2 separate regions of the Homo sapiens genome follow, and region 1 is linked to region 2. Evidence: promoter capture Hi-C in human tissues and cell types (Jung and others, 2019). All regions are on one chromosome and are shown on one strand. Each heading gives the region's core, a stretch centred on a gene start or on the middle of the fragment in contact. The rest is flanking DNA. Distances are from core to core; before and after follow the strand shown. Region 1 has its middle 200 kb from the start of EPCART. Region 2 holds the start of NEUROD1 (neuronal differentiation 1).

Evidence for each region. Contacts are between HindIII fragments. The study calls those that stand out against the background at their distance.
Region 1: a contact is called between a fragment that was not itself captured here and the fragment with the promoter of NEUROD1 in region 2, in 1 of the 25 tissues and cell types used here (dorsolateral prefrontal cortex).

Annotation. Positions count from the first base shown.
Region 1 is chr2:180,320,659-180,324,677 of GRCh38, reverse strand. No RefSeq gene overlaps it. Among named protein-coding and RNA genes, the nearest start is that of EPCART, 200 kb to the right of the region's middle. The HindIII fragment of the contact is 4,485 bases long and covers 1-4,019 here.
Region 2 is chr2:181,678,715-181,682,838 of GRCh38, reverse strand. It overlaps NEUROD1 (neuronal differentiation 1), which reads left to right and starts at 2,322. Exons shown (of 2, transcript NM_002500.5): 1 at 2,322-2,409; 2 at 3,968-4,124. The coding sequence starts at 3,979. RefSeq lists an enhancer at 1,096-1,672. The HindIII fragment of the contact is 10,799 bases long and covers 1-4,124 here.

The DNA of each region.
Region 1 (4,019 bases), core at 675-3,174, 1.4 Mb after region 2:
TGCGAGTCAAATACCAATAAATTTGTCAAAAATACCTTCAGCAACATGAGAAAGAAATCTAGTGTATCCTATATTATGAAAGCTGTTTTAACATTATTTAAGAAAGAATGTAATAAAATTTAGCCTAGGGGTTTCTAGACTTCATCTTGAGTGAAATATTTAGTCAAAAGCTACAGAAGTGAAAATGAGCATCAGGCACAACTGACTAATTTAATGGTCAGAACATATAATTGTTCAACACATGAACACAACCAGAGTTCAACATTGGGTGGGGTGCCTTCTGAAAATTCCACTGCAATGATGAAAGTGTAAAATTGCTAATTGTGTAATCCTTCACCACAGTTCTTGGGAAGCATTAGCATTACAAATTAGGGATAAACACTGTCTTTAATCTTTAACAGGCTGTCACATCAATCTAGGCTAGAGTAATAAAGGAGGTAAATTAAGGCAATATCTCCAGGTGTTGTGCTTGCCACCTCCCAAAATTTAAAGTGACTTCTCTGGATAATCTTCCTCAGGTTGAGCACTTAGCATAGGCTTGGAATTCACCCACCTGCCTCAAGCTTGCTGTCTATCTATGGATTTATCTGTCACCAAAATGGCTGCCAGCAACTTCCCACTAGAGCACGGAATGAGTGACTGAAAAAGGACTTCTGGGCAGCTTCCCATGAAATTTATTCTCTAAAACTTATCAAGATAATTACAAGAGAAAATGATAATTAGTGAGGAGGGGACTACTGGAAATCCTTTCAATAGTTTGTTTCCCATGAGAAAATTCTACAATAACAACAAAACAAATGGAAGTTTCTTTAAGTGTTTCTATGCTGTAAGAGGTGTTTTGCTTTGTTTTTTTAAAAAAATGCGTGCTTTATATATTGTTTGCCTTATTTTTTCTCTCTTTGTTTATTTACATGGGGTCCCAATTAGTGTAATATGTCCCAGTTAGTGTAAAGCATTGAGCAAGTACCATACCTGTGGGCCAGCCTTTTATAAACTGTAGATTATGGACAGTTCCTGAGGGTCCTATGAATTGCTCTGGAATAATGTTAGCTTGAAGTGGGAAAAGTTGTGACAAATTGAGTCAACACAGGCATATATTATTATAAGCTGTGGGACTATGATAAAATCAGCACTCTATTCACCTTTCAACCAAAAGTTTCATGTTAGCAAAGCAACATCATTTATCTTATATTTTTGTGTAAATTATATTATGCGCATAGTTCTTTAGAACTGACTAAGTTTACTTGGATTTTATGTTTTTATAAGGGCCATTAGCATGTGGGATTTCATTTATTTTATATTTAAGTACATTCAACTAATTTTATGTTAAAACCAAGCCAATACACAGAGTCCTAAAAGAATTTGGACAGGAGCTTCAAAAGAAGTACAAAGAAGTAAACTTTAAAACCAAGCCATATCAAATAATATAATTACTTTTTATGGCTATAAAAATAAATTCAGACCCAAGGACTAAGTCAAAGTAATTAATTAGTCATATAATTCTTAATATTTATGGATCTCATTATGAAAAACATCAGAAACTCTGAGGTTTTCTACAACTCTCTCTTATTTACTTCCAAAGTACAAAAATCCATGCAGCTGAAGTCTCAGAAAACAATCTTATATCTACTCTGTAGATAATAAAAAATAGCCTGTGAGTTTTGTCTTCTCAGATACTGGTCATAACAAATGAGTCATGTATTTCCTCTCTCTCCTGAGCATCAGAATTGTGATTCAAATAAACACAGATTTTAATCTCATACCTCTACCCAAATCCAAGAATTATGTTTAGTGTCCCAGAGGAAAGCACAAATTGTTGTATTTCTACTGGCCATAGAATTAACCCAGTTTGTCTACTTCTAAACATTTTCCTCTCTACTCCTTATTTTTACTTAATATTGGTTTTCTGTTTGTGAGTGTGTGTATGGCTGCTTTTCTTTCTATAGATAAAAATGCACCCTGCTATCTTCCAAATCAGTAAGTCATATTCTCTATCTTTCTACAACATGTTAAACAACACTTGTTAAATAAAACATATCCATTCGGGCAAATGTTTTCCAAAGAACAAGAAGAAAGAAAAGATTTATCTTCACTTCACTCATCTTTCCTCTTAACTCTCTAAGTTAGGCTTGCAGAAGAGAACTTGGTGTGAGTGTATAAGCTTCTTTAGCTCATGAACCATGTTCCAATTTGACAAGTACTACCTCAGTAAGGTCTTCATAATTTATTAAGTTTAGGAGAGATTTTTGGGCATCATAGTACTCTTAGTTGCAAAAAAAATGTCCAAGGAGATCTTAAGATTTAGACTCAATTTCTAGCAGGCAAGTAAACATATCATATAAGAGTTGGCTGTGTGATATAGTAAGACACATAGATGCAAGCTATGAAACTGAACATTTTAGTTAACATAGTGATAAAATGCTGTTGTTGTAGACATGGCAGGGAGAGGGAACCCTAGAGCCTACAGATATATTTACTTTGGCTGAAGCAATTTTTAAAGCAATTTAGATTTGAAAATCTTGACATAGGTCCCTCAAACCTCACTATTTCTATTTGTCTTACAGCAGGACAGCTTCCCTCATTTACATTACCTACACAATACCTGAAGGCATTTGCTTTGTAATCCCTAGAGAACCTTTAAAAATTCTCTCTGTCATAGTTTATGGGTCCTGTCAATAACTGAAATGGTTTCTATGCCTAACAATCCTCTTTACTATTTCAAATTGGTATAATATTCAACATGCACTAAGCCCTTAGGGGATTTTATGGGAAAGGTCAGCTGTAAGAGCCTATTATTGCTCATTATTATTAAGACTCCTTTGTTTCATTCAATCCCTTTATACAGTTGGGGAACACTTCTCAAGGGATGAGTTTATCTCTGTGTACTTTTGCAATAACAGTGGTACTCATTTGCAGTCTTTGCCTTCTTTTAATTCCTCCCTAGTCAAAGAAATCCTCTTTTGTGGTTAATGCTTTTAAATTATTACTTTAAAATCTATCCCTTGTGATATGTAATAGATTTATCTTAACCTGTTACCTATGAACTTGCAGTGACTGTCTACTAGATACTTAACCCTTAGTCTTATTTACATTTTTTCCTAAATTTGACTCTCACTACTGGACAGAAATTCCTGATCCAAAATATGGAAATTAACACAAAAGTGCTTTTAAAAATCATATAATCACAACCATATTTTTAAAAATTACCCTTAAAATTATTATACTCTATAATAAAGCATTTCTTCTCCCTTGCCAGGAGTCATATTTGTCATCATTTAATGTATATGGTTTTCTTTTTCTTTTAAGAAGATATTTTGTGCTGGTAACCCTGTGATGGTACAATTACAAAAAGCCACGGAAAAATGGCTGGCTTTTTCTCATTTCTCTTTAGTCTGCAGAAAGCTGTTAAGAGTGTTTTTCAAACCTTAACAATGTGAAAAATACGAAAACTACAAGATCACAATTTTAGTTGACCAATCAAAGAGTTGATAGGGCAAACAGTTGGCTGAATTACAAAGTGAGACAAGCTTCTCCAAAGAGAGAACATTCAGTCTGGCTCACTTGTGACAGAACATGGGAGGAAGGAGTGGTCACCATACAAGAGAGTTAGATGAAATCAACTCCAATATTTACAAATTTTGGACAATATGGGCTAATGTGTCTGCTGAGGGCTTCAGATTTAGTTGAGTTCTTGTTTTACTCACTAGCAAGCTTCCTCACCTTCCAACCTACCATGAACTTCTACTGGGATCTCATGAGAAAAAATATGGCAGAGCAGGAGTTCAAAGACAGAACGCTGCCGAGACCAGCTTGGTCGGAGAGACCCTAAACCAGCGGCGCTAGGGGAATTAAAGGCACACACACAGAAATATAGAGATGTGAAGTGGGAAATCAGGGGTCTCACAGCCTTCAGACCTGAGAGCCTCGAACAGAGATTTACCCACATATTTATTAACAGCAAGCCAGTCATTATCATTGTTTCTATAGATATTAACTAAAAGTATCCCTTATGGGAAACA
Region 2 (4,124 bases), core at 1,073-3,572:
ACAAGGATTTAGCAGAGGGACCTCTAGGCTACCCCTGACCTCGAAGCTAGCTGGAGTCCTTTCTCCCACTCCGTCCCCAGTTCTCCTCCGGAACTCCCCAAAGTTGGAAAAATGAGAGCCTAGGCACGAGTTGCATATGCCTGCGGCATAGTGTGCTGCCAGTCGGGGCAGCTGCCGGGTGAGGGGCAGTACTTAACCTGGCCCTGCCGCAAACGTCGGGCTGTGTACTATCTTCTAAGGGCTAGTACTCCGACGCCCTCGAGTTTTAGCCCAACACTGAAGATACAGACAGTACAGGGGTAAATCCTGGGCCCAGGCTCCTGGGTGAATTATTTTATCCTCCCCTATGCGCTTTGTCAGCCAAGTGAATGTAGAAAAGCAAGCAAAACTCCAGAACCCCACAACGATTCACGCCACGCTTCGGTGGCACAACTCTTTTCTTCCCCTTTTAGATTAGTACTGTGCAGGGAAGGCTGCACCTGCTACCTTCAGACACCGGGGATCTGGCTAGGACCCTCTTCCTCTACCCCTACTCTCTCCTCCCGTCCCCACCCTCTCCCAGATGCACCCCAATCCAGCCTCTCAACCCTGTCGCTGTTTGCAAACTCGAGGGATGTTTAGTGCAATTGCCTTTAAATAAGCAATTCACGTAAGAGGTATTTATTGCAGAGGGTTTCAGGTCTGGGAGGGGGTAAGGAGTTAGTTAATGAAGGATTAGAGGCAAAGCTGGGAAAGAACGAGTAGACAGGCCAGTTTCTTTCTTTCTTTTTAAAATCTATTATTCTGGAAAACCCTTGTTCGAAAAGAGTAAAGAATTGCTATTTGGGCAACAATATGGCTCCTTCAGAACTGGTCGAGAATTTCTGTGGTCTTTGCTTGACCTTCAAGTTGGGAGTTTCAAATCAGAGGCTTTGAAGTCTGGAGGAGTTCGCAGCCATTAATCCTTCCGGGGTTGTGCTAAAGGCGTTTCTAGAAAGAGATCGGAAAGACCCGTTCAGCACAGGCCCATTGCATCTTCTCTTTGAAAACGCTTGTCTGAATCAAGTATCTTATACAGACCCGAGACTGAGGGGAGCAAGAGCGCAGGTCCGGCTGTGGCGAGGTGTCCACCACCGTACTTGTGGTCAATGCCTGGACTAGAGAGCCGAGGCCGTCCAGGGCGGGCTGGCCAGGGAACCAGAAGCGTCCCTGGACTGGCTGAGTGAGGGTGCCCTTTCCAGCAACCCAGTGGCCATGGTTAAAAGGCAGAATACAACCGTCAAAGAAGTCCCCAGCTCCCACATAAGAGAGCGCAAAGGCCAATGGAACCAAGGCCTCCTCGCGAGAACTAGCTCGCTTTGAGGACAAGATCCTGGGGATGGAGGTGGGGACTGACGTAGTGAGAGGGTCTGGAGGAACAGTCGTAGCTGAAGGTCAGGACATGAAGAATTGCACGTATGGTAGGGATAGAATGGCAGGTACAACTTTTCTGTACTGAAGGAACTGGGAGAGGACGATCCGGTTAGGGAGGTTGGGGAACTAATCTCAACGCTGCGTTTACAGATGAAGCCGCTTTTATATGGCGTATATGTTTGCTTAGAGGGGCCGACGGAGATTAGGAGAAGCCATCCTTTGGCGCCAATGATCAAAGCGTCTGCCAAGGAGAAGAAGCCAAGGGATGGGCCTTTCAGAGAGGGCAAGGAGTCATGCTGCTCTGGATGCCAGTGTCAGGACAAGAAATCGAAAGGAGCGAGGACTCTTCACTGCGTGCCTCAGTCTCCCCGCTTCTGCCTCTTTCACCTCTGTCCTACTTCCGGCGCGAAAGCAGGCCACTCGCTCTGATCTAGACCTAGTTAACATTAGCTTTTCCCTTCCTTCCCTCAAATCCCCTCCCCCCTCTATCCCCGTCCCTTCTGCCGCCTGAAAGGGTTAATCTCTCCTGCGGGTAAAAACAGGTCCGCGGAGTCTCTAACTGGCGACAGATGGGCCACTTTCTTCTGGCCACAAAGGGGCCGGAATGGAGCGCTCCGCGGCATACAAATGGGCAGGTCACGTGGTTCCAGGCTCTTGGCTGGACCGGGAAGACCATATGGCGCATGCCGGGGAGGAAGGAGGAGGGGCGGGGGTAGGGGTGGAGGGTGAGGGGAGCGGTTGTCGGAGGAGGGCGGGAGACGAGCAAGGCGTGGGGAGAAGTGGGGAGGAGGGGAGAACGGGGAGCGCACAGCCTGGACGCGTGCGCAGGCGTCAGGCGCATAGACCTGCTAGCCCCTCAGCTAGCGGCCCCGCCCGCGCTTAGCATCACTAACTGGGCTATATAACCTGAGCGCCCGCGCGGCCACGACACGAGGAATTCGCCCACGCAGGAGGCGCGGCGTCCGGAGGCCCCAGGGTTATGAGACTATCACTGCTCAGGACCTACTAACAACAAAGGTAATTACAGTTCTTTCATTTTTTTGCCCCAGAATAGAAGCAATAACTGAAGACTGATGAACCTACATATTCTGTATGTGTGCGTTTGCGAGAGTGTGTATGTGTATTGAGACCAGCATCCCCCTCCATAATTGCCCATAAGTACTCACACATAATGAGTCGTGTCACTCAAGTACCCCCTGCAGGCTTTCTAATTTAAATTTTAAAAATTTGGGTTTCTTTTGTGGATAGCATAGGAGCTTCTTGGATTTTTTAAAAGAATGCACGGTAACTATGATTATCTGCTAGTGCTGATTTTAAAGTCCCAAAAGCAATAATGACTTCACTTTCTCACTTCTTACAGTAAGAAAAAAAAATCTATGTTATCAATATATATTTTGTGTGCATGTATTTTACGCACATTGGGAGTGTCAAGCTGTGTTTTCAGTGAATGAAAGGGACATGGATACCTTGAGTATTCACACCATGGAAAATAAATCAGGTTCAGAGATAGTTTAGTTGAGAGGGGGGAAAGTGGAGAAAGGGAGAGGGACTCACTCCTGCTACCTGTTACCGCTCCAGAGGCGGCCAAGTCCCCAGCAGCCACTACTGGAGCCAGAAATTCAGTTGTTTTACTAAAGGCTTTTTATTTTCCTTACTAGAAGCGGCAACTTCGCGGTTGCCAATCGCTGACCATTATAATTACTCAATCTTTTAAAGGGAGGTTTGAGGCGAACTTTGAAAAGCCCCAATAAAGAGCGGGCGGCCCTTTCAATGGGCTGTTTATTAGAGAGGAGCCTTCCGCACCTGATCCCCGGCGCGTGGGAGAGCGCTCTGCGCCGCGCCCCCAGCCCTCGCCCTGCAGCTAGCGCTTTTGTACAAGGTGGAAATTTAGCGGTGGGCCAGAGATGGAAGGCAAGAAAAGAAAGGCGAGGGAGGGGTGGAAGACCCTGTCCACTTTTGTTGCCAAATGTTACATTGATGGTGAAACAATTTGGTGGAAACTATTTTTCCTCCTTTCTGCATTTGCTTTTCAGTATCCCGTCGATGTAATCTTCTTAAAAATCGCTGCCAGTATTAGTAAATTACGCAATGGCTGTTCAACTTAAATCGCTAAGTATCTGGAAGCCAGGACAGAAATGGAAGTAGAATGTGTGATTTTACAGCTTTTTTTTTTTTTTATGGAGTTGTGAGTAACTTTGAACACATTTGGATAAACATGAAGTCGCTGAAATGTACAGTCATTTCCACACACATTATCCTGTCGGGCAACCACCATAAACACATTTAAGTTAATCACTAGGATACAAACACATATGCGTGAGTGGTGTACACATATACATATTCACTACCCTCCCCCAGTCCTGTCCTCACTCCTACGTACTAGCGGGGCACACGCACGCGCCATTATAAAACACTGCATTTAACTTTTTCTCAGAGGCATTCATTTTGTAATGGGCAGGTACTTTTCGCAAGCATTTGTACAGGTTTAGGGAGTGGAAGCTGAAGGCGTATCTGGCTTTTGAATATAGCGTTTTTCTGCTTTTCTTTCTGTTTGCCTCTCCCTTGTTGAATGTAGGAAATCGAAACATGACCAAATCGTACAGCGAGAGTGGGCTGATGGGCGAGCCTCAGCCCCAAGGTCCTCCAAGCTGGACAGACGAGTGTCTCAGTTCTCAGGACGAGGAGCACGAGGCAGACAAGAAGGAGGACGACCTCGAAACCATGAACGCAGA